3 separate regions of the Homo sapiens genome follow, and regions 1 and 3 are each linked to region 2. Evidence: promoter capture Hi-C in human tissues and cell types (Jung and others, 2019). All regions are on one chromosome and are shown on one strand. The core of a region is centred on a gene start or on the middle of the fragment in contact, and the rest is flanking DNA. Distances in the headings are between cores, read along the strand shown. Region 1 overlaps STK38 (serine/threonine kinase 38). Region 2 holds the start of ZNF76 (zinc finger protein 76). Region 3 overlaps KCTD20 (potassium channel tetramerization domain containing 20).

Region 1 (3,623 bases), core at 477-2,976, 1.2 Mb before region 2:
GTTGAAAAATGGTTTATCTTGTTGAGGATTAGGGAGTGTCAGGAACAAATTTGGTCAGATGCTTCTATTATGTCTCTCCACAGAGGAGTAGTTTTTAACCTTGGTTGCACAACAAAATCACTTGGGGAACTTCAGAACATGTTGATGTCCAGGTTCCACCCACAGAAATTATGATTCAGTTGGTCTGGGATATAGTCTGGGTATCTGGTTTTTAAAAGACTGAGTGATTCTACTGTGCAGTGAATGTGGAGAACCTCCACTGAAGAGGTTATGTCTTAAATAATAGCTCCTGCGTTGTTGGGAAACTAATATTTATCTATTTTTTGGAAACAGAAGGTAAGGAATCTGTGATTTCTTTTCTTTCTTTCTTTCCTTTCTTTTCTTTCTTTCTTTTTTTTTTTTTTTTTTTTTTTTGGAGGCCAGGATTTAACCTTTGGCTACTGTGCTGACAAGTATTTTGGGGATAAAGCTTAAGTGTTTTGAATTGTTCCTTATATTCCAAGACAAGCTTTGTGCTCTTTGATGTGTACCCAAGGGTCATGTCATGATTAGAGGAACCATTTCTATAGTTCTATAAGGAAAGCAATTTCACAATTTTCGTATTTGCAGTTAAATGTCATTTAATAGTTAAAAACATTTTTGAAAATCTGAATAAACTTAAGGCCCTGATGCTATGGTTAAGGTTCTTGCCTTTTTATACTATATACAGTAGAAATGGGAAAGTGTAAATTAAGGTCATCTTCATATTATCTCTTTTCATAACTTGAAGAAAATGAAGCCACCTCTCAGTCTTCCAAATGTTAATTAACTGTGTTACTTTGACCTTTTGTTAGTGATCCCATTCAGCTAGTACCAAGCTGAAGATTGATATTCGTTAATGGTTAATATAAATTTACTGCTCTAGGTTAAGCCTAACATATGTAATTGCTACTCAGCCTATTACTTTTTAGTCCATTGGGAATCACTAAAAAAAGTAGAGGCTTTAGCTTCATTCCTCGGCTGCTTAAATCATATTGTAATGTTTTAAATTGTTATGTCGTCCTGTATAACCTTAGGCCCCAGTAACTGATTAATATGAGTCAGCTTTAAGTTAATTACAGATATAAAAGGTAATAGACACATAGGCATCCAATCTTGGTCAGTTTAATTTTTTAGGGTTGAATTTACAGAAGTGAGTAGGAAATTAAATTGCTTTATTTCTTCTAAAACCCTGACACAAAATCATAAGGTTAGAACACATTCAGTTGAAATGACTGTTAACAACCAACAGAGCTATTCCAGATAGCAATTTTCATTGACACTTGAAATACCCAGACAGAAAAAAGGAGAAACTGGAGTACAGATTTACGAGGTTGGAGTTGGAGGACACCCTGGTGTGGAAAACAACAAAGGTTTGGGAAGGGGGCAGTCCTTAGATTGGAAAGGGCACACCTGGTACAGATGGTGTGGTAAAAAGTGTGGTAAAATGCGAGCGAGCTCCAGTGGCAGACTCTAGTTTCTGGAATAAGAGCAATACTTTTACCTTCACAGGTTTGAGCCTGTTGTTTGCTATATTTTATAACTCGTTAAGAGTTTTTTTTAATGCACTGGTATCTTGAAGGAGTTCTTTTCCTCTGGCAGTAGACCTCTGGTTTTATAATGGAAATCTTTGAACAAGTAAGATCTGCTTAGATTTACATTCATCTTTGGTAGAGTAAACCTCATCTCTAAATTAAAGAGTTTGTAATTTCTTACCTTTATGATTAGAATGAAAATTCTTGGAGAGGGCCTAATCCACATGTCAGTTTTTAAAGCTTAAAGACAAAAGACAACACTGGCATTTGTGTTAATATCTGCATTTAAATATATATCATACACACACAAACACACACACACACACACACTTAGCTATATGGAAAAAATGGATCCCTACCTTACAGTATATGCAAAAGTCAATTCTAGATGGGAAATTAAACTTTAAAAATTTTTAAAGAAAATACAGGGCAATATCTTTATGACCTCAGAGTAAAGAGGGATTTCTTAAACAAGAACTACAGCTCATAAAGGAAAAAGTTGGTTTATTTTATTACTTTAAGGAAAAAAAACCTTCTATATATCAAAAGACGTAAAGAAATGAAAAGACAAGCCACACAGTACAGCTACTTTGGAATTATCTTTCAGAATTCATGTGTACACCCTACAGCGCTGCAATTCTACCCCTAGTCATAGGCCCTGGAGAAACTGCACATGTGAACCAGGAGACATTCAGAAGAATGTTTATTGCATTTTCATAATAGCAAAAGACTGGGAATAATCCAGTGTCCATCCACAGGAAAACAGTTACATTCTGGAATAGAATATTTTGCAGCAGTAAAAATAATTGAACGAACAGCTACTTGTGACAGTGTGAATCAATTTTAGAAACAAAGTTGAGAGGAAGAATCTAATAGCAGAAGACTGTATATAGAATGGTACCATTTTAATAAAGCTCAAAAATAAAACTAAGATCTCATTTAGAGAGATAGATGGCAAAATTCTTTTTAAAAGCAGAGGAGTGACAAAACACGAAATTCAGCATAGTGGTTAAGAGAAGCAGGAGAGACGAGGAGGAGTACATGTTTAGCTTTAATAATATTGGTATTCCTTGGTTCTTCAGTTGAACTCGTGGCTATTCATTTTCATGATTATGCATTATAATTTGATAATGTATGTAATTAACAGATGTATGTATGTGACATATTTACTTTTGGTAACAAATACTACTTCATTAAAAAAATCACAATAAAAATAACAAGCGTCAATCTGGGAGAAGATACTTGCAGTATACAAATATCTTAAACAGATTAATGTCCTGAATTCATAAAGAATTCCTATGAATCAATAAGAAAAAGGACAACACAACTTAAAAAATACTAATGGACAAAGGATCTGAATAGGAATTCATAATAAAAACCTGGATGGCTAATTAAAATATGAATATGTGCTCAACCCTACTTGAAATAAAGTAAATGCAAATTAAAACAAGATCCCAGCCATGCTGGCACATCCCTACAGTCCCAGCTACTCAGGAGGCTGAGGCAGGAGAATCCCTTGAGGCCAGGATTTCAAGGCTGCAGTGAGCTATGATCATACCACTGCACTCCAGCCCGGGTGACAGAGCAAGACCCCATCTCTTAAAAAGAAAAAAAAAGAGATCCCATTTCATATTCATCAGATTGGTAAAAATAAAAAAAAATCTGACAAAGCCAAGTCTTGATGAGATATGGAGTACCAGAAGCTAATCCCCACCGGGGTTGGTTTAAATAGGGACTAACTACTTTGGAGGACATGGAAGATACCTCAAGTTTAAATGCTTATAACCCAAGGCTCAGCAATATTCTAGTTAATACTCTAGAGGAATGCTTGCACAGTGCCCAAGAAGGTATTAAAAGAATGTTTATTCAGGTGTTATTTGTCATAGTGAAATACTGGAAGCACTGTAACTGTCCATTACAGAAGAACGGATAAAAACTATTGTGACTAATTTATATAACAGTATAGCATACGGCAGAGAAATGAGTGAACTAGAGCTACATGAATAAATCTCAAAACGAATGTTAAGACAAACAAGGCCGGTTGCGGTGGCTCACTCCTGTAATCCCAGT
Region 2 (3,406 bases), core at 442-2,941:
TTGGCACACAGTAGGTATTCAGCAAGCCAATCGTTATTGAGGCAAAATCAGGGTAAGAACCAGAGAAGTGAGGCTACAGCAGAGATGAGAAGATAGGGATTCCAAGATGTCAGTAGTAGCAACATAATGCAAGGTATGGGCCACATGTTCAGTCTGTTAAATCCCTAGCACTCAGGACAGAGTAAGATCCATAGCAGCTTCTCATTTCTAACAACAGCTTATGCTAAGGGTTCCCATGAGCCAGGCATGGTGCCCGGTGCTTTACATATGTTATGTCAGGCACTACTATTTTCTCCCTTCGCAGAGGTGGAGACTGAAGTTAAGACAGGCTAAATAATATACCAAAAGTCCCATAGCTGAAGGGCCAGAATCAGTCTGGAACCTAGGTTTGTTATGAACTCAATGCCCCCAAATGAAGCACTCTGCTATACTGCTTTGCAAACATGTTAACTGATGGGGCCTGATCAAGGGAAATGGGTATGCACTATGAAGAGTGAAGAGGGTGATCCGGGAATGAGGGAGTAAGGTTCATGATGCAAGCAGATCCTGGGATGAGGTTACAAGAGGAAATTTCCAGGGTGGGGTACAAAAATGATTGCAAAAAATTATTATCTTGACTGAGAACTGCATAATTTCACAATTTCACAGACGGAAGGAAACTCAAAGATCATCTAACCCAACCTCATCACAGTCATGATGAGAAACTGAGGTCCAGACTGAGGAGGGGACTTCTCACAGGTCCCTAAAGCACAGCAGTGACAGAGCTGGGACCACACACTGGATTGACTGGATTCTGGATTGATCCAGAATTCTCTGATGCCTCCAATTATTACTACTTCATATTAATCTCTATATCCTCCTTAGCACCAGAAAGGTGCTGGACGCTTGTAAGTCATGTGCTGATTGACACTGAAGGGCTGGGATCGCAGAGAGAGATGCCAGTGGGGGTGATTTTAGGATAAAGGCAGACGTGGAACGAGGGTCATACGGCTACAGGATAAAGATACTGAGGGTTGTGTACAAGGTGAGTGCGTGGAAAACTATTGGAGTAGGGCTTAGGAGTCGCCAGCAGAGTTTTGAGGGGAGTCACCGAGTTTGTGGGGAACACAAGGTAGAATCGGGGGGGTTACTGGGCCAGGAGGGTTACCCAGGTTTGGGGGTCACTAAGGAGGAGTGTGGGGATCTCAGGGTCATGTGAGTCACCGGATTAAAACTGAGGGAGTCACTGGTTGGTGGGTCTCTGAGAAGTGCTGGGGAAATTCCTGGGTTAGCAGCCAATGAATAATAACCAACGGTTACCTGGTGAGGTCTTGGGGTCAGTGGGTGGGGTGTGGGGTCACAAGGGTGGAGGCGGGCGCCGTCACGGGGTGAGGTTTGGGAGTCACGGGGGAGGAGCCGCAAGGCGGAAAAGAGGGGCAGGGACCCTGGGTGGGGGAGGGGGCCCGGCCGCGGTCCAGCGGCCAGGCCGCCCTGCTAGGGCCGGAGGGAGGTGGGCACGCCGGGCTCGGGACCTTCCCGGGGTCCTGCGCCCGCCCGGCCTCCCGCCCTGGGCATGGTTGGCCCACTCCTCCCGCAGCCACCAACCTGACAGCCCCCGAGGGCGACTCCGCCGACAGACCGCCATGCACCGGGCCCCGCCACCAGCGCCGGCCCCACAACCCGCCTGCGCCATAGCCCGCCCGCCCGCGCGCAGCTTGCCTCGCGCGATATCCAGGTTCCAGGGCCGCCGCACTTTCCTTTCCTCTTGGCGCGCCTCTACCGGGCCCCGGAACCCGTATAGAAAATACCGGGCACGGTCCACCCCGCCCCCCGCTTCGCCGCGGCAGCCATCCAACTTATCCTGGTTCCGGGGCTCCTGGAGCCCAGGCGGCCGGGATCTGAACCGAGCTCTTCGGAGCCCCGCCCCCACCAAGGCCGGGGTGACGCATGGCCAGCGAGGCTGAGCGCCCAGGGAAGGCGTGCTGACGTCACGACGCCCGGGTCAGGGCCTGGGCGCGGCTCGGAGCCGGGTCGTCGCTATAGCAATCGGGAACCGCTACCTGTCCATTCCAAGGATTCGGTCCAGCAGAAGCGTGAGGAGGTGGCGGAGGCCCCGAGGGCTTTGCGTCATCACTTCTGCGGCCTGCGGGCGAGAAGGTGCGCTTCGGGAGTAGCGCGGGAGGACAGGAGGCGCAGGTTGTGAGGGACGCAGGCCCTGGGGCTTCGGTCTCTGTCCTCCGAGCTCAGAGCCTCCAGGCTTCTTCCCGGCCGCGCGCTCAGCACTCACTGTCTTACGGTCCCGAAGCGCTTTAAGGTGCGCAGTCCGCAGGCCTTGCCTACTGATCTTCCAGCCACCCCTTGAAGGAAGCAGTTGCAGGTATTAAGAGCTCCTTATTGAAAAGGACGATGTAGAGGGGCGGTGAGGGACTCGCCTCCGCAGGGAGGGCGCCCTGGCGGTCTTCTCAGGTTCTCTCTCATTCCCGCGTCAGCTCCACCGTCAGGCTCGAAACCGACTACTCCCTTTTGTAGGCTTGCTTTGGGTTGAACATAAAAACCAAGCCCCTTTACTATTTCCCTGCTGGGAGGGGCTGCGATTGGGAAATTTTCAGAAACCTGAGGGAAAATTAAAAGGGAGCGAGCTTTCGGTAAAAAATCAAATTAAAAAGGAGGGGCGTTAGAGAAGGAACTGGTAAAGATTGCCTTTTAGGAGAGGAACTGGGTGGCTGGAAGAATGAGGTGAGAAACTTTCCCCTCTCTATCCTTTCAGACTTTAACTGGTTTCTTTTGTATCTTCCCCGCCCCGAAAACAATTTAACTTAATAAGAATAATTTTTAAAGGACGTAAACTAGACACAGTTACAAAGTACGGGGTTTGGGGCTTGTGGTAGCTAAAGGTGTCTTTGGGGATGCGGGCATCCTTTTCCTCTCCTGCCTGAAGAGCTTAACTAGAAAGCCCCCCTTTCGGTCTTAGACATCCCCTCTTCCTGACTTGTTCTGGCTGGGACCAGAGTTCAGTTTAGGTAGGCCAGTGAGTGACATTTGATGGTTAGAATTCCTACGGTTAGAATTAATCCCTTCTGTATCTCCTAGTATGGAAATAAACTGCCTGGCCACTATGCTGCCCTCTTTCCATTCCTTTTTGGTGGAAGTTTGACAAGTTATTTCCCATAGAAAATAACTTATAGGCCGGGCGCCGTGGCTTAAACGCCTGTAATCCCAGCACTTTGGGAGGCTGAGGCGGGCGGATCACGAGGTCAGGAGTTCGAGACCAGCCTGGTCAACATAGTGAAACCCCCCCTCTCTACTAAAAATACAAAAAAATTAGCTGGGCGTGGTGGCGGGCGCCTGTAATCCCAGCTACTCCGGAGGTTGAGGCAGGAGAATTGCTTGAACCCGGGAGGCGGAGGTTGCAGTGAGCCAAGATCGC
Region 3 (3,167 bases), core at 49-2,548, 1.2 Mb before region 2:
TTGGGCAACAGAGTGAGACTTCATCTAAAAAAAAAAAAAAAAAAAAGAAAATGAAGATGCACACTACAATGATCACAGATGAAAAAAGACTATCAGTACACATCCCATGAGACTAAAAAGATGAGCAGTTATTTTGTACAATTTATGCCAGTAAATTAGAATTTGCAGATTAAATGAATATTCTATAATTTATTGAAACTGACTTAGAAAAATTAGAAAATCTGCAAAGTCCTATATCTAGTAAAGAAATTTAATTGATAATTAAAACTTTTCCAGAATCCAATGGCTTGACTAGCAAATTTTCCCACACTTTTAACGAAGAAATTATATCAAACTTTCTCATGAACATAATCACAAAAATCCTAAACAAATTATGAGAAAATCAAATTCAGCCACATAAAAAAGGATAATACATTATGGCAAAGATTGGTTTAACATTCAAAAATCAATTCATATGATTCACCAATTAAAAAAATAGGCCAGGCACATTGACTCACACCTGTAATCCCAGCACTTTGGGAGGCCAAGGTGGGCAGATCACTTGAAGTCAGGAGTTTGAGACCAGCCCGGTCAACATGGCGAAACCCTGTCTCTACTAAAAATACAAAAATTAGCTGGGCATGGTGGTGTGTACCTGTAATTCCAGCTACTCAGGAGGCTGAGGCATGAAAAGCACTTGAACCGGGGAGGAGGAGGTTGCAGTGAGCTGAGACTGCACTACTGCACTGCCTGGGTGACAGAGTGAGACTCTGTCTCTAAATAAATAAATAGAAATCTGTTTGAAAATAACTAAAATAGGGCCAGGTGCAGCAGTTTATGCCTGTAATCCTAACACTTTGGGAGGCCAAGGCAGGAGGATCGCTTGAGCCCAGGAGTTCAAGACAAAACTGGACAACACAGTGAGACCTCGTTTCTACAAAAAATAAAAAAATTAGCTGGGTGTGGTGGCACATACCTGTAGTCCCAACTACTTGGGCAAGGCTGACGTGGGAGGACTGCTTAAGCCCGGAGGTCAAAGCTGCAGTGAGCTGAAATCTTGCCACTACACCTCATCCTGGGTGACAGAGCAAGACCTTATTTCAGAAAAGAAAATAACTGAAATAGTGTGAAATAGTATTGATATATTAGATTTTTAAAAGGCAAGTTGAAACAATAAATGTATCCACAGAAAAAAGATGGAAAAGATTATTCTCCCTTAACTGTAGAATCACGTGACTTTTCTTTTAAAAAGTTATTGTCTTACTGAATATTCTAAAGTCTCTAAAATGAATGTGTTATTATCTTTAAAATAAGGAAAAATGAAAATGTATCTCTAAAAACAGATACCTTCTCAAGAAAACATTGGAATCATTGGAATGGTTTCTTAAAAACTGCTTGTAACTAGGTTCCATGGCACACTATTGTAGCCCCAGCTACTTAGGAGGCTGAGGTGGGAGGATCACTTGAGCCCAGAAGTTCTGGGCTGTAGTGCGCTATGTCAATCAGGTGTCTGCACCAAATTTAGCATCAATGGTGACCTCCCAGGAGCAGGGATCCACCAGGATGCCTAAGGAGGGGAGAACTGACCCAGGCTGGAAACAGGCAAGTCAAAACTCCTGTGCTGATCAGTAGTGGGATCAAGACTGTGAATAGCTACTATGCTTCAGCCTGGGCAACACAGCAAGACTTCTAACTCTTAAAAAGTAAAATAAGATAAAATAAATTTTTAAAACTGCTTGAAACAGTTTAAGAGAAAATTTTTAAAGTTTAATCAGAAAACAATATATTATCACATAAAATAGTTTGACATTCTTCCATCTAGATTAAAGAAGAAATGAGCTTAATAGATGAATTAGGAATTTAAGTTAATGTATGGAATAGTTTTTCAAGCACATTATTCAGTAGGCTAACAGGATAATCTTAAATATAACATAACACAATGATTTATACAGAGGCATAATATGCTTCTCAGGGTATACAAAAGTAAGCATGGTTCTGAAGAACAGGTAAAGCCAGTCACGTGAAAAAGAATGCTGCCTGGGCCTCATGGCGTAGGACATAGTGATGAAGGAAACGAGCATTCAGATTACCCAACACATAACCTTTCTTTTTTTTTTTTTTGAGACAGAGTCTCACTCTGTCACCCAGGCTGGAGTGCAGTGGCACAATCTCAGCTCACTGCAACCTCTGCCTCCCAGGTTCAAGCGATTCTCCTACCTCAGCCTCCCGAGTAGTTGGGATTACAAGCACGTGCCATCGTGCCCAGCTAATTTTTGTATTTTTAGTAGAGACAGGGTTTCGTCATGTTGGCCACGCTGGTCTCAAACTCCTGACCTCAGATGATCCACCTGCCTCCACCTCCCAAAGTGTTGGGATTACACGCAGGAGCCATTGCACCCGGCCCCAATACATAACTTCTTTTTTTTTTTTTTTTTTTTTTTTTTTAGGACGGAGTCTCACTCTGTTGCCCAGGCTGGAGTGCAGTGGCGCAATCTCGGCTCACTGCAAGCTCCGCCTCCTGGGTTCACGCCATTCTCCTGCCTCAGCCTCCCAAGTAGCTGGGACTACAGGCGCCTGCAACCACGCCCAGCTAATTTTTTATATTTTTAGTACAGACGGAGTTTCACCATGTTAGCCATGATGGTCTCGATCTCCTGACCTTGTGATCCGCCCGCCTCAGCCTCCCAAAGTGCTGGGATTACAGGCGTGAGCCACCGCGCCCGGCCACCAACACATAACTTCTTAAACAGATTGTCGGGGCTGAACTGTGTCTCCCTCAAAATTCATATGTGAAGCCCTAACCCCTAGTCCTCAGAATGTGCCTGTATTTGGAGACAGTGCCTTTTAAACGAAGTCATTAAGGTGGGCCCTAATCCAATATGTCTGGAGTCCTCAAAATGGGGCGAGTAGAACACATAAACAGAGGGATGACAATGTGAAGATGAGAGGTGAAGCCAGCTGGACTTCCTGGGTCGAGTGGGGACTTGGAGAACTTTTCTGCCTAAAGGATTGTAAACGCAATTGGAGAACTTTTCTGCCTAGCTAAAGGATTGTAAACGCACCAATCAGTGCTCTGTGTCTAGCTAAAGGATTATAAATGCACCAATCAGCACTCTGTAAAAACACACCAATCAGCACTCTGTGTCTAGCTAAAGGATTGTAAACGCACCAATCAGCACTATGTAAAA

What was found. The method cuts DNA at HindIII sites, captures the fragments that hold promoters and counts their contacts. A contact is called where the count stands out against the background at its distance.
Region 1: a fragment that was not itself captured here is called in contact with the fragment with the promoter of ZNF76 in region 2 in 1 of the 25 tissues and cell types used here (heart right ventricle).
Region 3: a fragment that was not itself captured here is called in contact with the fragment with the promoter of ZNF76 in region 2 in 1 of the 25 tissues and cell types used here (adrenal gland).

What each region holds. Positions count from the first base shown.
Region 1 is chr6:36,501,690-36,505,312 of GRCh38, reverse strand. The region is part of intron 9 of STK38 (serine/threonine kinase 38); the gene reads left to right. Among named protein-coding and RNA genes, the nearest start is that of STK38, 44 kb to the left of the region's middle. The HindIII fragment of the contact is 3,482 bases long and covers 1-3,467 here.
Region 2 is chr6:35,258,020-35,261,425 of GRCh38, reverse strand. It overlaps ZNF76 (zinc finger protein 76), which reads right to left and starts at 1,691. Exons shown (of 14, transcript NM_003427.5): 1 at 1,585-1,691. It overlaps SCUBE3-AS1 (SCUBE3 antisense RNA 1), which reads left to right and starts at 1,971. Exons shown (of 4, transcript XR_001744102.2): 1 at 1,971-2,136. RefSeq lists silencers at 1,259-1,578, 1,589-1,708. The HindIII fragment of the contact is 24,264 bases long and covers 1-3,406 here.
Region 3 is chr6:36,449,421-36,452,587 of GRCh38, reverse strand. The region is part of intron 1 of KCTD20 (potassium channel tetramerization domain containing 20); the gene reads right to left. It also overlaps the pseudogene RN7SL502P. Among named protein-coding and RNA genes, the nearest start is that of KCTD20, 8.0 kb to the right of the region's middle. The HindIII fragment of the contact is 8,557 bases long and covers 1-3,167 here.